2 separate regions of the Homo sapiens genome follow, and region 1 is linked to region 2. Evidence: promoter capture Hi-C in human tissues and cell types (Jung and others, 2019). All regions are on one chromosome and are shown on one strand. Each heading gives the region's core, a stretch centred on a gene start or on the middle of the fragment in contact. The rest is flanking DNA. Distances are from core to core; before and after follow the strand shown.

Region 1 (3,184 bases), core at 251-2,750, 340 kb after region 2:
CAGGCGTGCGCCACCACACCCGGCTAACTTTTTTTGTATTTTTACTACAGATGGAGTTTCACCATGTTGGCCAGGCTGCTCTCTAACTCCCAACCTCAAATGATCCATCTGCCTTGGCCTCCCAAAGTGCTGGGATTATAGGCATGAGCTACTGAGCCTGGCCTCAATCTTATGCTTACAATTCTTAATCTGTTGCCTCATTTTATAGCCACAGCTCAGGTGACAGCTGAGGGATTACCTTCGTCTGTCTCTGAGCCTCTAAGATTTCTATTTTCTTCACCACCTTCCAGGAATCCTTTTTTCTAGCTCTTGGTTGCTGGCCATGTCCTGGACAGTTCAGTTTAAAATCTGACCTCCAGTTCATCGGTGCATCTACCATCAATCCTCATTACCTGCAGATTCTGCAGCTGTAAATTCACGTACTTGATAATGTTTATTTATAGCCCCTAAATCAATCCCAGCAGGGCTTTCCTGGATGTGCGCCAAGTGCTGAAGAGGTTGAATGGCTGATATGCACGGTCCCAGCAGAGCTCCATCGAGGAGCTCCTTTTGGTTTCCGCTCTTATACCATAAATGAATGCCCTTTTCTTGGTTGCTTTGGGGTTTTTTTTTGAGACAGAGTCTCACTCTGCCACCCAAGCTGGAGTGCAGTGGTGTGATTGCAACCTCTGCCTCTTAGGTTCAAGCGATTCTCCTGCCTCAGCATCCCGAGTAGCTGGGACTACAGGCATGTGCCACCACACCCAGCCAATTTTTGTTTTTTAGTAGAGACGGGGTTTTGCCATATTGGCCAGGTTGGTCTCAAACTCCTGACCTCAGATGATCCACCTACCTTGGCCTCCCAAAGTGTTGGGATTGCAGGTGTGAGCCACCATGCCCAGCCAGGGTTCTCTTAAATGTAATGGAAAGAGGAGAATTGGAAAGGCAGAGAGAGAGAACTAGGATCCTGCATGAATGAATCAAGTTGAGTTGGAGAGAAACTGTATTTATAGGAAAGTTAAGGCTCTGAGTTTGGAGGCCAAGCAGGGTGGGGATGAGCAAAGCCATGAGAAGGAAAGAAGGGCTTCAAAAAACAGCTGCTCCTTCTTGATAGATGCAGAGAGGAATCAGGAAAGACCGGGGGCCATGCAGTGTTATTTGTAGCACTTGAATAGCTTGGCTCTTAGAGTTCCAAGACCTCCAGCTAGTGATCCAGAGATGCCATTAGAGGGCAAAAGCGCTCGCTGCTCCCTCATTTGTCACCAGGAAGACATGGTATGGCCCTGGTCTTAAGGACAAATTAGTCAATTGCTTATTGTATATCACGAGATGAACGCTGGGAGAGAGGAAACGCAGGGTGTGTAGGAAGAGGGCAAAACCGGCTACATCTGACCCACCCCAGAGATGAGGAAGGCTTCCAGGTGGGAGGTGACGCCAGGAGGTAACCAGGTGGAAATCACCGTCAAGTAGCAGGGACAGGAGTGCAAAGGCTCAGAGGGAACTTCTCCAGGATCAGCAGAGCTCAATTGTAGGGTGTGAGGCTGTCACAGAGGCTGGAGAAATAAGCAGTGCCTTGCTAAGAAGTCTGAATTTTAACCTGAAGGGACATGAGAGCTACTGCAGGCTGGTAAGCAGGGGGGTGATGCTGGTTGGATTGCAATGCAGAGAAACCCTGGGTTGGCCTGCGTCTGATGGACTGGAGACACCCTTGAAGAAATCAGGGTACAGGCAGTCCTCCGGAGTAGAAATGAGGAAGGTGCCAGCTGAGACCACAGCAGTGGGGAAGAGTGTGAGAGGGATGGAAATTGAGATGAATTCATGGGTGTTTGGCCTGTGCAGTCACACAGTGCCCCATGCTGAGAGGGACCCCGAGCGTGGCTTAATGCTCTGCTCTTACTGTCTTAAAATTCCTCCTCATTTTATGTTTGAATCTATGTTTTGTTTTGTTTTGAGAAAGAGTCTCGCTCTGACATCCAGGCTGGAGTGCACTGGCGCCATCTCAGCTCACTGCAACCTCCACCTCCCAGGCTCAATTGATTCTCCTGCCTCAGCCTCCCAAGTAGCTGGGACTACAGCCACCTGCCACCACACCTGGCTAATTTTTGTATTTTTAGTAGAGAGTGGGTTTCACCATATTGGCCAGGCTGGTCTTGAACTCCTGACCTCAAGTGATCCGCCCACCTCAGCCTCCCAAAGTGCTGGGATTACAGGCATGAGCCACCGTGTCTGGCCTTTTTTCTTGTTTTTAATGGCACTCCGAGAGTTTGCATCTTCTACCACACAAACAAAGCCCAGTCCAGAGACAGCGTCTATTCCTGTAAAGACCTAGATGCAGCTCCCCCAGGGCTGCCAGCATCCATCTCACTTGCCAGTGACGTTAAGAGCTTTCCCACCAGGGAATGTGCCTGGCAGTTGTGGGCAGTCTCTGTTTCTCTTGCTGGCAGACAGAACAGTTCTTCTTTTTTTGAGACATTGTTCCACTCTTGTTGCCCAGGCCGGAGTCCAATGGCATCATCTCGGCTCACCGCAACATCCGCCTCCTGGGTACAAGCAAGTCTTCTGCTTCAGCTGGGATTATAGGCAAGCACCACCACGCCCCGGTAATTTTGTATTTTTAGTAGAGATGGGGTTTCTCCATGTTGGTCAGGCTGGTCTCAAACTCCCAACCTCAGGTGATCCACCCACCTCTGCCACTTAGAAAACAATAAACAAATGGGGTAAAATGGTAGCACTGGGGAATGTCAGCGAAGGGTATAAAGGATGTCTTTGTACTATTCTTGCAGCGCTTCTGTGTCTGGAAAAATAATAATAAATATTACATATTTAATAACTAAATGAATGAAAAAGTGTGCAATGTTTTTGCAGATGTCAACCTTGGCAATGCAATAGGATCATCTCAGAAGCTCTGCATGAATATCAGTGCCCAGGCTCCAACCCAGAGATTCATAGTCAGTTAGCTGGGGGTGAAACTCCAGACATCGGCATGTGTGAAACACACCCCAAGGTCATTCTAGTGTGAATCCAGAATAATAAGCAGCCAGCTTAGCCTTTAGTGTCATTGGGTGACAGGAAAGTTCTAGGCTGGGGACTTTCTGAGCCCCCCATGTCTGCTTGTTTTGAGATCTGATCTTGGGGGCAGCATGGTGACTCAAAACAGGAGCACAGTTGTGGGTCCAGTCTTGGTCCTTCCACTAATAAGATGGGA
Region 2 (3,464 bases), core at 954-3,453:
TTCCTCATGGTCAATAAATCACTGATTGTAAACAAGCATCATGTGTGATATGCCTTTTGCAAGCGTAGCTACGAAGTCCTGTATCCCATTTCCAAAGTATAGCATCCATCATTCCCTTGGGGACAAGAGATCGTGGTGTAAAGCTGGTTGATCCTGTCAACTGATCTCACAGCAGGTAAAAAACTGATACTGCAGGTCCAGTTTCAGGAGCTGACAGGAGCGTTTAGCAACACTCCAAAGAGGAATTCTTTGCTCCATGCATCACAAGCAAGGCAATCCTTTTGATCACACTTGAATTTTTGGTTTTAAGCTTAAGTAGTCTGTTTTCTCTTATGCTATTTATAAAATGCAGGTGTCAAGGTTTGCGCTTGGATGTTTTAAAGAGGCAAAAAATCAAACATGCCTAGGTTTCAGGAACTGACCAAGTGCTGAGAGATTAATCTTTTTTTTTTTTTTTTTCTGAACCAGGGTCTTGTTTTGTGGTCCAGGCTGGAATGCAGTGGTGTGATCCTAACGCACTGCAGCCTTGACCTCCTGGGCTCAAACAATCCTCCCACCTCAGCTTCCTAAGTAGCTGGGACCACATGTGCATGCCAGCACACCCGGCTAATTTTTAAATTTTTTGTAGAGACAAGGTCTCCATATGTTGCCCAGACTGTTCCCAAACTCCTGGGCTCAAGCGATCCTCCCACCTCGGCCTCCTGAAGTGCTGGAATTATAGGTATGAGCCTTGGTTTTTCAATTCTGGGTCCATAAATTTATGAAGACCTTGGATACAATGTACACAGGAGAAGGCATCCTGTTGGTAAGGAGTTTCATAAAAAGGAAAAGAAAACGCATCAAGAAGCTGACGTAGGTAGCAAAGAGACAGGAAAAGAGAAGAGCTTTAAGGCCAGTGTTTGGAGATCAGACATTTCCCCTCAAAGGAGGACAGGCCTGGCTCAGGTCTTCAGAGGCATCAGGAATAGACCCTGGCCTCAGCTGATTCAGAGATGGTCAGAGCAAAGGACACCCCACAGGGCCTTCTCAGGGCTATGTTTGGAAGCAGCTCTTGTTACCCCAAGCCTGCCTAGCATCAAACACCCTTCCCTTTTATCCTCAACGTTTGTGGTCAAGTATTTGTCACTGCCCCGAGGATATTTAGGGCTGTACAGAGCAACATGTCCTTGTCATCAGGAGCAAGGACACACATGGAGCGGAATCTGACTGATGGGTACACATTGTGCTTTCTGCCCGCTTCTGCAACGGAAGATGCTGGAAATGTTCTGCTAGATCTCAACAGTGTGGGTGGCTGAAAGCAAACTCTGTCCACCACACAGACATAGTCTGAGAGCCCCCTAAGTGTGACTGCCCTGGGCCACCTGGATCCCCCTGCTGGGCTCTGAGCAGGGACATGACTGGTCTCTGTGCAGGCCGCAGGGCAGCTTAGTCCCTGTCACAGCCCCAGAATGATCGCCCCCACCAGGCCCAGGTCGGTCCTCCTGTAAGTCTCCTGGCAATACTGCTCTAAAATCCCACTTCCAGCCCAGTGCAGGGACTCACGCCTGTAATCTCAACACTCTGGGAGGCCGAGGTGGGAGGATCACTTGAGCCCGGGAGTTCGAGATCAGCTTGGGCAACATAGTGAGACACCCGTCTCTACAAAAAAAAAAAAAAAAAAAAAAAAATTAGGCGGGTGTGGTGGCATGCACCTGTGGTCCCAGCTACTTGGGAGGCTGAGGCAGGAGGCATTGCTTGAGCCCAGGAGTTGGAGGTTGTAGTGTGCTAGGATAGCGCCATTGCACTCCGGCTTGGGCGACAGAGCGAGGCTGTTTCTGAATGAATGAACGAATACATAAGTAAATAAGAAAATAGGTAATACATAAAATAAAATAAATAAAATAAAATAAAATAAAATAAAATAAAATAAAATAAAATAAATAAAATAAAATAAATAAAATAAAATAAATAAAATAAAATAAATAAAATAAAATAAATAAAATAAAATAAAATAAAATAAAATAAAATAAAATAAAATAAAATAAAATAAAATAAAATCGCACTTCCCAGCGGTTACACCCGGCCACGGAGGTCCCCAGGCTGGCTGCGAGGGCGCCGGGGAGGTCACTGTTACTCCAGCCCCGCAACCCGCGGCGGCCCTCGCACACTTCCGCCGGAAGTCAGCCCCTCAGGGGCGCCGTGCTGATGTCACGAGCCCGCAGGAAGTCTCGTATCGCGCCCGGGAGGCGCCGGAGCCCAGCGGCTGGCGGTAAGGCCGCCTCCGCGGGGCTGTGGGAAGCTTGGGCTGTCCCAGGACCGTCAGTCTCCTCCTCTGACCCTCCCTTTCCCCTTGTGTGTAGGGCCGCCGTCCCACCCCCACCTCGCCCGAGTCCGGGGCGGCCCCGGTGTCCCCTCCGAGCCTGCTGCACTCCACGTCCCCCTACCAGGGCTCCAGCCCCCAGGGAAATCTCCGACCAGGCCCGCCCAGGAGGTGCCTTGGATGGGGGTGGCTTCGGGAGGCCCTAATGGGGAGTGGCGGGGAGAGACCCAAGGCTACCGACTTGGCTTATTTCTTCCCAACTAGCTGTTTCTCACAAAGTCTTTATTATTATTGTATTTTGAGACGGGGTTTCGCTCTTGTTTCCCAGGCTGTAGTGCAGTGGCGCGATCTCGGCTTACTGCACCCTCCGCCTCCCGGATTCAAGCAATTCTGCCTCAGCCTCCCCAGTAGCTTGGATTACAGGCATGCGCCATCACGCCCAGCTAATTTTTTTTGTATTTAGTAGAGACGGATTTCACCATGTTGGTCAGGCTGGTCTCGAACTCCTGACCTCAGGTGTTCTACCCGCCTCGGCCTCCCAAAGTGCTGGGATTATAGGCGTGAGCCACCGCGCCCGGCCTCTTTTATTGTTTTTAGAGATGGGGTCCAGCTCTATGGCCCAGGCTGGAAGGCAGTGGCACGATCACAGCTCACTGCAGCCTCGACCTCCTGGGCTCAAGCCATCCTTCCACCTCAGCCTCCCAAGTAGCTGGGACCACAGGCGCGGGCCACCACGCCCCACTGATTTTTAAATTTTTATGTAGGGACAGTGATCTCACTGTGTTGCCCAGGCTGGTCTCGAACTCTTAACCTCAAGCTATCCTCCTGCCTGGGCCTCCCAAAGATTTGGGAGCAGGCCTAAGCAACTTAGTCTGGGCCATTTCTCCCAAAGTCTTACCCATTCATGCTGGGGGTGCTGAAAATCCCCTACTTCCAAATCCTTTTCCACAGGTATTCTGCCTTTGACTGCAACTCTTGTCGTCTTATGTGGGTGTTGAATTGATCTGTCTCTGCAGCCAGATCCAGGCTCCTGGAAGAACCATGTCCGGCAGCTACTGGTCATGCCAGGCACACACTGCTGCCCAAGAGGAGCTGCTGTTTGAATTATCTGTGAATGTTGGGAAGAGGAATGCCAGAGCTGCCGGCTGAAAATTACCCAACCAAG

Evidence for each region. The method cuts DNA at HindIII sites, captures the fragments that hold promoters and counts their contacts. A contact is called where the count stands out against the background at its distance.
Region 1: a contact is called between a fragment that was not itself captured here and the fragment with the promoter of ZDHHC4 in region 2, in 1 of the 25 tissues and cell types used here (mesendoderm cells).

Annotation. Positions count from the first base shown.
Region 1 is chr7:6,916,967-6,920,150 of GRCh38, forward strand. No RefSeq gene overlaps it. Among named protein-coding and RNA genes, the nearest start is that of CCZ1B, 92 kb to the left of the region's middle. The HindIII fragment of the contact is 5,631 bases long and covers 1-3,184 here.
Region 2 is chr7:6,575,251-6,578,714 of GRCh38, forward strand. It overlaps ZDHHC4 (zDHHC palmitoyltransferase 4), which reads left to right and starts at 2,204. Exons shown (of 8, transcript NM_001134389.2): 1 at 2,204-2,248; 2 at 3,316-3,464. RefSeq lists a silencer at 2,224-2,553 and an enhancer at 2,832-3,447. The HindIII fragment of the contact is 8,419 bases long and covers 1-3,464 here.